3 separate regions of the Homo sapiens genome follow, and regions 1 and 2 are each linked to region 3. Evidence: promoter capture Hi-C in 16 types of primary human blood cells and fetal thymus (Javierre and others, 2016). All regions are on one chromosome and are shown on one strand. Each heading gives the region's core, a stretch centred on a gene start or on the middle of the fragment in contact. The rest is flanking DNA. Distances are from core to core; before and after follow the strand shown.

The links. The method cuts DNA at HindIII sites, captures the fragments that hold promoters and counts their contacts. A CHiCAGO score of 5 or more calls a contact.
Region 1: a fragment that was not itself captured here is called in contact with the fragment with the promoter of STH in region 3 in 17 of 17 cell types (neutrophils, M2 macrophages, naive CD8 T cells and 14 more); the score reaches 16.1 in neutrophils.
Region 2: a contact is called between a fragment that was not itself captured here and the fragment with the promoter of STH in region 3, in 2 of 17 cell types (naive CD8 T cells and total CD4 T cells). The highest score is 5.4, in naive CD8 T cells.

The regions. Positions count from the first base shown.
Region 1 is chr17:46,204,558-46,208,667 of GRCh38, forward strand. It overlaps a transcript of KANSL1 not described here. Among named protein-coding and RNA genes, the nearest start is that of KANSL1-AS1, 13 kb to the left of the region's middle. The HindIII fragment of the contact is 7,277 bases long and covers 1-4,110 here.
Region 2 is chr17:46,177,939-46,181,750 of GRCh38, forward strand. The region is part of intron 1 of KANSL1 (KAT8 regulatory NSL complex subunit 1); the gene reads right to left. Among named protein-coding and RNA genes, the nearest start is that of KANSL1, 14 kb to the right of the region's middle. The HindIII fragment of the contact is 2,545 bases long and covers 623-3,167 here.
Region 3 is chr17:45,996,778-46,000,499 of GRCh38, forward strand. STH (saitohin) reads left to right here and starts at 2,473. Exons shown (of 1, transcript NM_001007532.3): 1 at 2,473-2,917. The coding sequence starts at 2,503. The coding sequence ends at 2,889. All of the region lies in intron 9 of MAPT (microtubule associated protein tau), which reads left to right. The HindIII fragment of the contact is 3,833 bases long and covers 1,498-3,722 here.

The sequences.
Region 1 (4,110 bases), core at 1,527-4,026, 210 kb after region 3:
CCAAAATTAGTCCAAGATGAAGCCAAGAACACATCTCAACTCATTCAATAAAGCCATTATTACTCTGATGCCAAAACCAGACATAGATATCACAAGACAACTACAGACCAATATATCTTATGAATACAGATGTAAAAGTCCTCAACAAAGCAAAATGAATCCAGCAACATATTAAAAGGCTTATACACCATTGCTAAGTATGACTTAATCCCAGGGATTCAAGGTTGGCTTAACTTCTGAAAATCAATTAATGTAATACACCATATTAATAAAGGATACAAACCACATGATCATTTGAATAGATGCAGAAAAAGCACTTAACAAAATCCAACATGCTTTCATGATAAAAACACTCAACAAAGTAGAAATTGAAGAAAACATCTTCAATCTAATAAAAAATACCTATGGGGGAAAAAAAGAATACCTACAAAAACCCCATAGCTAAAATCATACTTAATGGAGAAAGCCTGAATGCTTTCTCCCTCAGGTCAAGAACAAAACAAGGATATCCACTCTTACCACTCTGTTTAACACTGCACTGAAGGTTATGGCCAGGGCAAATAGGCAAGAAAAAGAAATAAAAATCACTCAGGCTTAAAAAAAAGAAGGAAAACTACCTTTATTTGCAGATGATATAATCTTGTATATAGAAAATCCTAAGAAAATCCCACAAATAAACTATTAGAGCCAATAAACACATCCAACACAGTTACAGGATACAAGCTCAATATACAAGTAGTAATCGTATTTCTATACACAAGCAATAAGCAATCTGAACATGAAAAGTTTTTAAAAATTCCACTTACAATAGCATCCCCCCGCCAAAAAAAAAAGACTTAGAAAGCCAAGCACGATGGCTCACACCTGTAATCCCAGCACTTTGGGAGGCCGAGGCAGGCGGATCACTTGAGGTCAGGAGTTCAAGACTAGCCTAGCCAACGTGGTGAAACCCCGTCTCTACTAAAATATAAAAATTAGTTGGGTGTGGTGGCAGGTGCCTGTAATCCCAGCTACTCAGGAGGCTGAGGCAGTGGAATCACTTGAACCCAGGAGGCGGAGGTTGCAATGAGCCGAGATCACACCACTGTACTTTAGCCTAGGTGACAGAATGAGACACTGTCTCAAAAAAAAAAAAAAAAAAGACTTAGAAATAAATTTAACAAAAGCAGTGACAATCTTATACTCTGAGATATATAAAAATTACAAAAGAAGTTACAGAAATCCTAACTAAATGGAAAGGCCAGGTGTGATGGCTCACACCTGTAATCCCAGCACTTTGGTAGACTGAAGTGGGTGGGCTGCTTGAGCGCAGAAGTTCAGGATCAGACTAGGCAACATGGCAAGAACTCATCTCTACAAAAATACAAAAATGAGCTAGATGTGGTGGCATGCACCTGTAATCCTAGCTGCTTGGGGGGCTGAGGAGGGAAGATCACTTGAGCCTAGTAGGTTACAGCTGCAGTGAGCCATGATTGCATTACTGTACTTCACTGCAGCCTGGATGACAGAACAAGACTGTGTCCCCCAAAAAAAAAAAAAAAAAAAAAAGGAAAGATATCCCATGTTCATGGATGAGAATGGATCAGAAGATACAACTCTGTTAAAATGGCAATATTCCCTAAATTGATCTACAGAATCAATGTGATCCCAGCATACCCAAAAGAAATTTGAATAGGAAAAACAAAGTTGGGGGACTCACACTTCCTGATTTGAAAACATAATTCAAAGCTATGGAAATCAAGACAGTGTGGTAGTGGCATAAGGATAAACATACAGATCAATGGAATATAAGTGTGGGTTCAGAAATAAACCTTTACACTGACAGTCAATTGATTTTATGACAAAAATGCCAAGACAATTCAGTGGAGGAAAGAATGGTCTTTTTAAGCCAAGTGCTGTAGCTGACACCTATAATCCCAGCATTTGGGGAGGCTGAGACAGGAGGATTGCTTGAGGCCAGGAGTTTGAGACTAGCCAGGGCAACAAAGCAAGACCCCCATCTCTACAAGAAACAAACAATGGTCTTTTCAACAAACCATGCTGGGACAACTGAATATTCACATGCAGTAGAATGAAGCTGGACCACTATATCTCACACCATACACAAAAATTAATTCTAATTAAATTTAAACACGGATTATAGACCTAAATGTAACAGCTAAAACAATAAAATTCCTAGAAGAAAACAAAGCTAATCTTCATTTCATTTGGTGGCCTGACATCAAAACCACATGCAACAAAGGAAAAAACAAGTAAATTTGGCTTCATCAGAATTATAACATTTTGTACATTAAAGGACACCATCAAGAAATTGAAAACACAACCCATAGATGGGAGAAAATATTTGCAAATCATGTATCTCACAAGGGATTTGTATCTAGTATATTTAAAGAACTCTTACAACTCAACAATAAAAAGAGAATCCAATTTTAAAATGGGCAAAGGCTGAGCATGGTGGCTCACACCAGAAGGAGAGGATCCCTTGAGGCAAGGATTCTGAGACCTGCCAGAGCAATATAGCAAGACCCTGTCTCTACAAAATAAATTAATAATAATAAAAAAAAACAATTAGCCAGGCATGGTGGCACACACCTGTAGTCCTAGCTACTCAGGAGCTTGAGGCAGAAGGAACCCTTGAGTCCAGGAGTTTGAAGTTCCAGAAACTATGATTGGGCCGGGTGCGGTGGCTCACGCCTGTAATCCTAGCACTTTGGGAGTCCAAGGCGGGTGGATCATGAGGTCAGGAGTTCAAGACCAACCTGGCCAAGATGGTGAAACCCCATCTCTACTAAAAATACAAAAATTAGCTGGGCGTGGTGGTGGGTGCCTCTAATCCCAGCTACTTGGGAGGCTGAGGCAGAGAATCACTTGAACCCAGGAGGCAGAGATTGCAGTGAGCCAAGATAGTGCCACTGAACTCCAGCCTGGGTGACAGAGCAAGACTCCATCTCCAAAAAAAAAAAAAAAGAAAAGAAAACTGCGATTGGCCACTGCACTCTAGCCAGAGTGACAGAGCAAGACCTAGCCTAAAAAACAATAGTGTATAAAAATAAAATTAAAATGTGCAGAGAATTTAAATAGACATTTCTCCAAAGAAGATATATGAATGGCCAATAAGCACATGAAAAGATCTCATCAGGTTGAGCACAGGGGATCAGGCCTGTAATCCCAACACTTTGGGAGGCCAAGGTGCGGGGACTGCTTGAGCTCAGGAGTTTGAGACCAGCCTGGGCAACATGGTAAAACCCCATCTCTACAAAAAATACAAAAAGGCCAGGTACAGTGGCTCATGCCTTTAATCCCAGCACTTTGGGAGGCTGAGGCGGGTGGATCACCTGATGTCAAGAGTTTGAGACCAGCCTGGCCAACATGGTGAAACCCCGTCTCTACTAAAAAGACAAAAATTAGCCAGGTGTGATGGTAGGCGCCTGTAATACCAGCTACTGGGGAAGCTGAGGCAGGAGAATCACTTGAACCTAGGAGGCGGAGGTTACAGTGAGCCAAGATCACACCACTGCACTCCAACCTGGGTGAAAGGCAAAAATCCGTCTCAAAAAAAAAAAAAGTTTCAAAGATAAAACAAAAATCTTGTTAAAGATAAATACACGAGATGCTAAAGAAATAATCTACTTCTTCAAGTCATGCTATCAATTTGCACCAAAATTTTCATTTCCTATGTGTAGGTGTTGAGGGTCTTGTACCCATGATAAATGACATACACCTGTTCTGGGCTGACTTTTGTTCCCCAAAAGAGATATATAGTACTCCAAGGGGCTGGGCACAGTGGCACATGCCTGTAATCCCAGCACTTTGGAAGGTCAAGGCCACAGCATCGCTTGAGCTCAGGAATTCAATATCAGCCTGGGCAACATGGCAAGACCCCGGCTCTACTAAAAATATAAAAAAATAGCCAGGTGTGGCAGTGCACACCTGTAGTCCCAGCTACCCGGGAAGCTGAGATGGGAGGATTGCTTGAGCCTGGGGTTTAGGGGGCTGGAGGTTGCAGTGATCCAAGTGCCACTGCACTCTAGCCTGGATGACAGAGGGAGACCCTGTCTCAAAAAAAAAAAAAAAAAAAAAGATATGTAGTACTCCTAACATTCAGCACCT
Region 2 (3,812 bases), core at 645-3,144, 180 kb after region 3:
AGCTAGTTTTTTGTATTTTTAGTAGAGACAGGGTTTCACCATGTTAGCCAGGATGGTCTCCATCTCCTGACCTCGTGATCTGCCCACCTTGGCCTCCCAAAGTGCTGGGATTACAGGCATGAGCCACCACGCCCGGCCCATAGTAACATTCTTAAATTTAATATACAGAGCAAAACAATGATTCCTATCCCACTTGACCCCTACAAAATTCAAAAAGCTTCAATCTTTGACAATGTAAAGCAGGGAAAGACTGTCAAATTTAAGCAGTTCTTAGAGAAGCTCAGGGCTAAAGGAAAAAAAAACGAAAAACAAAAAAAGGAAGCAGTTCTACACAAACAGCACAACAGCCTATCTGATAAATCATCTTTCTCCAAAGAATACAAAGCCTTAAAAGCTATAATTAACTGATTAATCCTCATAACAACCTGGGCAGTAGAATTAGGGCTGAGATTATAATTTCTAATTTACCGGTGGGGATAAAGTCAGACTGTACATTCAGAATAAAAATTCAAGCCCCAAATATCCCAATTTTTAGTTCATTCAGTTAGTAAACTATAATCTGACAAATACAGATGGAGCTGCTACACCTGCTGTCACTCACACAAATTGAGATTCTGCAGTAAGCTTGTACAGATAAAAGAAAAGGCTACCTATTCAAGGTCATTTAGCTATAAAAGGTTGGGCTAGATAATCAATAGTTTCTCTCTCAGTTTCAAAGAAGTATTTTAGGGTCTGGAAGATGTTAAATGCACTCAGCAAGCAAATACATTTCGGAAAAACTTCCCAGATGGAGACTCACAACGTATTGCATCATACTGAATATGCAAATGTTTACCTTTACCAAACTTTTTTAACAAGCACCTTTTTCCATTACATCTATTAATATCAAGCAGAAACATCATTGTGAGAAATACAAGTTGGGATAAAGTTCAAATATGTGACCTCTAGGGTCCCTTCCTATGTTAATTCTATTATTCTAAATTGCACCATCGGTCCAAGGACAAACTTCTACCTAACACAAGTGGCACTTGGGAAGCAAAAATATACTTCTAGGATAGAGTTTCTCAACCTAACCACTAACTGACATCTCACGATGAGTAATCTATCACAGGGGGCTATCCTGGCAGTAGCATGTTTAGCAACATCTCTGTTTTCCACCCACTAGATGCTAGTAGTGCCCTTCTGAAAATTATGACAATCAAAAATGTCTCCAGACATGTCAAATATGGGAGCTGGGGGGTTCAACATCACACCTCCCAACAGAGAACCATATCCTAAAGATTATACACACACATATATATACTCTTTCAAAAGCAAAACGTATCCAGCTGCTTCAAATACTGTAAGTCAGAACTAACTCCACACCCACAAATGAAAACCTCATTTATTCCCAGTCAATTTCCAAGACAAGACTCCAGATACACAAGAATAACCTGGAAGCATCCACCTTGCAAAAATATTTAGCTGCAGAGAACAAAGGGGAAGGAATAGGTCATCCAGGTGGCCAACAAGTATTACAACCACACTTGCACTGAAAGCAAAAGCAAAAATCAGATGGGGAAGAAAAGTTTGCCCATAATGTGGCTTCTACTAACCTCTTCCTTCACCATTACCTCATTTCTCTACACAAAGGACGGAAAGAAACAGCAGGAAGGATGATTAGGGAAGTGTCCATGAAGTTGCCGCAATTTTAGCTGAGACTTGAAAATTAGCTAAAATGTCATTATGCAAAAGGCTAGGACAAGAGAATGGTAATGTGGCATTCTAGTGAGAGGAAATGGCATAAGAAAAGGCAACGCTGTGTGGGAAAAGGCGACATTCTGAAGGTTAAAAGAAATGAACAATTTGGGCCGGGCGCAGTGACTCATGCCTATAATCCCAGGACTTTGGGAGGCTGAGGCGGGTAGATCACCTGAGATCAGGAGACCAGCCTGGCCAACATGGCGAAACCCCATCTCTACTAAAATTACCAAAAATTAGCCGGGTGTGGAGGCGCGCACCTGTACTCCCAGCTACTTGGAAGACTGAGACAGGATAATTGCTTGAACCCAGGAGGCAGAGGTTGCAGTGAGCTGAGATCGGGCCACTGCACTCCAGCTTGGGTAACAAGAGCGAGACTCCATCTTAAAAAAAAAAAAAAATTAACAATTTGCTTAAAACACAAAGCATATTTTAATAGAGGAAATAGTAGAATGAAGGTGGAAAGGCAGTTTGAAGCCAGATCCTTAACGGACAGCCTTTAATAGCCTTAATTCAGACTTAAAGACAGTAGAGGGGCCAGGCACAGTGGCTCACGCCTGCAATCCCCGCACTTTGGGAGGCTGAGGCGGGTGGATCACCTGAGGTCAGGAGTTTGAAACCAGCCTGGCCAACGTGGTGAAAACCCGCCTCTAATAAAAATACAAAAAAATCAGCTGGGTGTGGTGGCGGGCACCTGTAATCCCAGCTGCTCGGGAAGCTGTGGTAGGAGAATCGCTGAAACCTGAGCGGCAGAGGTTGCAGTGAGCCGAGATCGCACCATTGCACTCCAGCCTGGGTGACAAAAGTGAGACTCCATCTCAAAAAAAGAAATAAATAATAAAAATAAAAATAAAAAATTTAGCCGGGCATGATGGCAGGTGCCTGTAGTCCCAGCTACTAGGGAGGCTGAGGCATGAGAATCACTTGAACCCAGGAGGCAGAGGCTGCAATGAGCTAAGATTGAGCCACTGCATTTCAGCCAGGGCGACAAAGAGAGGCTCTGTCTCAAAAACAAAAACAAACAAACAAAGACAGCAGAGGCCAGGTGCAGCGGCTCAGACATGTAATCCCAGCACTCTGGGAGGCCAAGGCAAAAGGATTGCTTGAGGCCAGGAGTTTGAGACCAGCCTGGTCAACATAGCGAGATCGAGTCTCTGAAAAATAAAAAGTATATACATATATATATACACACACATATATATGTATATGTATATATAAAATAATGACAGCAGAGTATCATTAAACACTTTTTAAATGGGAGTGAAACATCAGACTGTGCTTTAGAGAGATCAGTTGGGTAGGATGGATTGAAAGTAAGTAAAAAGGCATCTATAGATGGCAAAGACCAATAAAAAAGCTACCACAATAATCCAGATAGGATGCAATGAGAACTTCAACCAGAAAATAATAGTCAAAGTCTCTACCAAAGCTTAAATCCAGAAATGTGAAGGGGCCAGTCTAACAAAAAGGCCAAATATATGACAAACAAAAACATGATGGCTTATAAAGAATGGAAAGAAAGCTCTCTTTTCCTTCATAATTTCATCTCCTTTGTGACGAAATCCTTCTTTTCTCACGAAGCTTTTCAGGTTTGGTATGTCCTCTCTATACTTCTAACACTATCAGTCTAGCCCAGGTCCTCATCAGCTCCTGTCTAGATTATCACAACAGCTTCCTGACTAGTGCCTCAGTGCCCCAAACTATCCTTTACCTTTTTATCATCTCACTTTCCTACTCTGAACAAGTTCCTCACACTTTTTTTTTTTTTGAGACAAAGTCTCGCTCTTGTCCCCCAGGCTGGAGTGCGATGGCGCGATCTCCGCTCACTGCAACCTCCGCCTCCCAGGTTCAAACGATTCTCCTACCACAACCTCCCGAGCAGCTGGGATTACCGGTGCCTGCCACCACAGCCAGCTAATTTTTTTGTAATTTTAGTAGAGATGGGGTTTCACCACGTTGGCCAGGCTGGTTTCGAACTCCTGACCTCAGGTGATCGACCCGCCTCGGCCTCCCAAAGTGCTGGAATTACAGGCATGAGCCACCACACCCAGCCCCTCACACCTTTTTAATGA
Region 3 (3,722 bases), core at 1,223-3,722:
GGACTGTGCATGGAGGTGTGGGGCTCCCCGCACCTGAGCACCCCCGCATAACACCCCAGTCCCCTCTGGACCCTCTTCAAGGAAGTTCAGTTCTTTATTGGGCTCTCCACTACACTGTGAGTGCCCTCCTCAGGCGAGAGAACGTTCTGGCTCTTCTCTTGCCCCTTCAGCCCCTGTTAATCGGACAGAGATGGCAGGGCTGTGTCTCCACGGCCGGAGGCTCTCATAGTCAGGGCACCCACAGCGGTTCCCCACCTGCCTTCTGGGCAGAATACACTGCCACCCATAGGTCAGCATCTCCACTCGTGGGCCATCTGCTTAGGTTGGGTTCCTCTGGATTCTGGGGAGATTGGGGGTTCTGTTTTGATCAGCTGATTCTTCTGGGAGCAAGTGGGTGCTCGCGAGCTCTCCAGCTTCCTAAAGGTGGAGAAGCACAGACTTCGGGGGCCTGGCCTGGATCCCTTTCCCCATTCCTGTCCCTGTGCCCCTCGTCTGGGTGCGTTAGGGCTGACATACAAAGCACCACAGTGAAAGAACAGCAGTATGCCTCCTCACTAGCCAGGTGTGGGCGGGTGGGTTTCTTCCAAGGCCTCTCTGTGGCCGTGGGTAGCCACCTCTGTCCTGCACCGCTGCAGTCTTCCCTCTGTGTGTGCTCCTGGTAGCTCTGCGCATGCTCATCTTCTTATAAGAACACCATGGCAGCTGGGCGTAGTGGCTCACGCCTATAATCCCAGCACTTTGGGAGGCTGAGGCAGGCAGATCACGAGGTCAGGAGTTCGAGACCAACCTGACCAACAGGGTGAAACCTCGTCTCTACTAAAAATACAAAAATACCTGGGCGTGGTGGTGGTGCGCGCCTATAATCCCAGCTACTCAGGAGGCTGAGGCAGGAGAATCGCTTGAACCCAGGAGGCAGAGGTTGCAGTGAGCCGAGATAGTGCCACTGCACTCCAGTTTGAGCAACAGAGCGAGACTCTGTCTCAAAACAAAATAAAACAAACCAAAAAAACCCACCATGGCTTAGGGCCCAGCCTGATGACCTCATTTTTCACTTAGTCACCTCTCTAAAGGCCCTGTCTCCAAATAGAGTCACATTCTAAGGTACGGGGGTGTTGGGGAGGGGGGTTAGGGCTTCAACATGTGAATTTGCGGGGACCACAATTCAGCCCAGGACCCCGCTCCCGCCACCCAGCACTGGGGAGCTGGGGAAGGGTGAAGAGGAGGCTGGGGGTGAGAAGGACCACAGCTCACTCTGAGGCTGCAGATGTGCTGGGCCTTCTGGGCACTGGGCCTCGGGGAGCTAGGGGGCTTTCTGGAACCCTGGGCCTGCGTGTCAGCTTGCCTCCCCCACGCAGGCGCTCTCCACACCATTGAAGTTCTTATCACTTGGGTCTGAGCCTGGGGCATTTGGACGGAGGGTGGCCACCAGTGCACATGGGCACCTTGCCTCAAACCCTGCCACCTCCCCCCACCCAGGATCCCCCCTGCCCCCGAACAAGCTTGTGAGTGCAGTGTCACATCCCATCGGGATGGAAATGGACGGTCGGGTTAAAAGGGACGCATGTGTAGACCCTGCCTCTGTGCATCAGGCCTCTTTTGAGAGTCCCTGCGTGCCAGGCGGTGCACAGAGGTGGAGAAGACTCGGCTGTGCCCCAGAGCACCTCCTCTCATCGAGGAAAGGACAGACAGTGGCTCCCCTGTGGCTGTGGGGACAAGGGCAGAGCTCCCTGGAACACAGGAGGGAGGGAAGGAAGAGAACATCTCAGAATCTCCCTCCTGATGGCAAACGATCCGGGTTAAATTAAGGTCCGGCCTTTTCCTGCTCAGGCATGTGGAGCTTGTAGTGGAAGAGGCTCTCTGGACCCTCATCCACCACAGTGGCCTGGTTAGAGACCTTGGGGAAATAACTCACAGGTGACCCAGGGCCTCTGTCCTGTACCGCAGCTGAGGGAAACTGTCCTGCGCTTCCACTGGGGACAATGCGCTCCCTCGTCTCCAGACTTTCCAGTCCTCATTCGGTTCTCGAAAGTCGCCTCCAGAAGCCCCATCTTGGGACCACCGTGACTTTCATTCTCCAGGGTGCCTGGCCTTGGTGCTGCCCAAGACCCCAGAGGGGCCCTCACTGGCCTTTCCTGCCTTTTCTCCCATTGCCCACCCATGCACCCCCATCCTGCTCCAGCACCCAGACTGCCATCCAGGATCTCCTCAAGTCACATAACAAGCAGCACCCACAAGGTGCTCCCTTCCCCCTAGCCTGAATCTGCTGCTCCCCGTCTGGGGTTCCCCGCCCATGCACCTCTGGGGGCCCCTGGGTTCTGCCATACCCTGCCCTGTGTCCCATGGTGGGGAATGTCCTTCTCTCCTTATCTCTTCCCTTCCCTTAAATCCAAGTTCAGTTGCCATCTCCTCCAGGAAGTCTTCCTGGATTCCCCTCTCTCTTCTTAAAGCCCCTGTAAACTCTGACCACACTGAGCATGTGTCTGCTGCTCCCTAGTCTGGGCCATGAGTGAGGGTGGAGGCCAAGTCTCATGCATTTTTGCAGCCCCCACAAGACTGTGCAGGTGGCCGGCCCTCATTGAATGCGGGGTTAATTTAACTCAGCCTCTGTGTGAGTGGATGATTCAGGTTGCCAGAGACAGAACCCTCAGCTTAGCATGGGAAGTAGCTTCCCTGTTGACCCTGAGTTCATCTGAGGTTGGCTTGGAAGGTGTGGGCACCATTTGGCCCAGTTCTTACAGCTCTGAAGAGAGCAGCAGGAATGGGGCTGAGCAGGGAAGACAACTTTCCATTGAAGGCCCCTTTCAGGGCCAGAACTGTCCCTCCCACCCTGCAGCTGCCCTGCCTCTGCCCATGAGGGGTGAGAGTCAGGCGACCTCATGCCAAGTGTAGAAAGGGGCAGATGGGAGCCCCAGGTTATGACGTCACCATGCTGGGTGGAGGCAGCACGTCCAAATCTACTAAAGGGTTAAAGGAGAAAGGGTGACTTGACTTTTCTTGAGATATTTTGGGGGACGAAGTGTGGAAAAGTGGCAGAGGACACAGTCACAGCCTCCCTTAAATGCCAGGAAAGCCTAGAAAAATTGTCTGAAACTAAACCTCAGCCATAACAAAGACCAACACATGAATCTCCAGGAAAAAAGAAAAAGAAAAATGTCATACAGGGTCCATGCACAAGAGCCTTTAAAATGACCCGCTGAAGGGTGTCAGGCCTCCTCCTCCTGGACTGGCCTGAAGGCTCCACGAGCTTTTGCTGAGACCTTTGGGTCCCTGTGGCCTCATGTAGTACCCAGTATGCAGTAAGTGCTCAATAAATGTTTGGCTACAAAAGAGGCAAAGCTGGCGGAGTCTGAAGAATCCCTCAACCGTGCCGGAACAGATGCTAACACCAAAGGGAAAAGAGCAGGAGCCAAGTCACGTTTGGGAACCTGCAGAGGCTGAAAACTGCCGCAGATTGCTGCAAATCATTGGGGGAAAAACGGAAAACGTCTGTTTTCCCCTTTGTGCTTTTCTCTGTTTTCTTCTTTGTGCTTTTCTCTGTTTTCAGGATTTGCTACAGTGAACATAGATTGCTTTGGGGCCCCAAATGGAATTATTTTGAAAGGAAAATGCAGATAATCAGGTGGCCGCACTGGAGCACCAGCTGGGTAGGGGTAGAGATTGCAGGCAAGGAGGAGGAGCTGGGTGGGGTGCCAGGCAGGAAGAGCCCGTAGGCCCCGCCGATC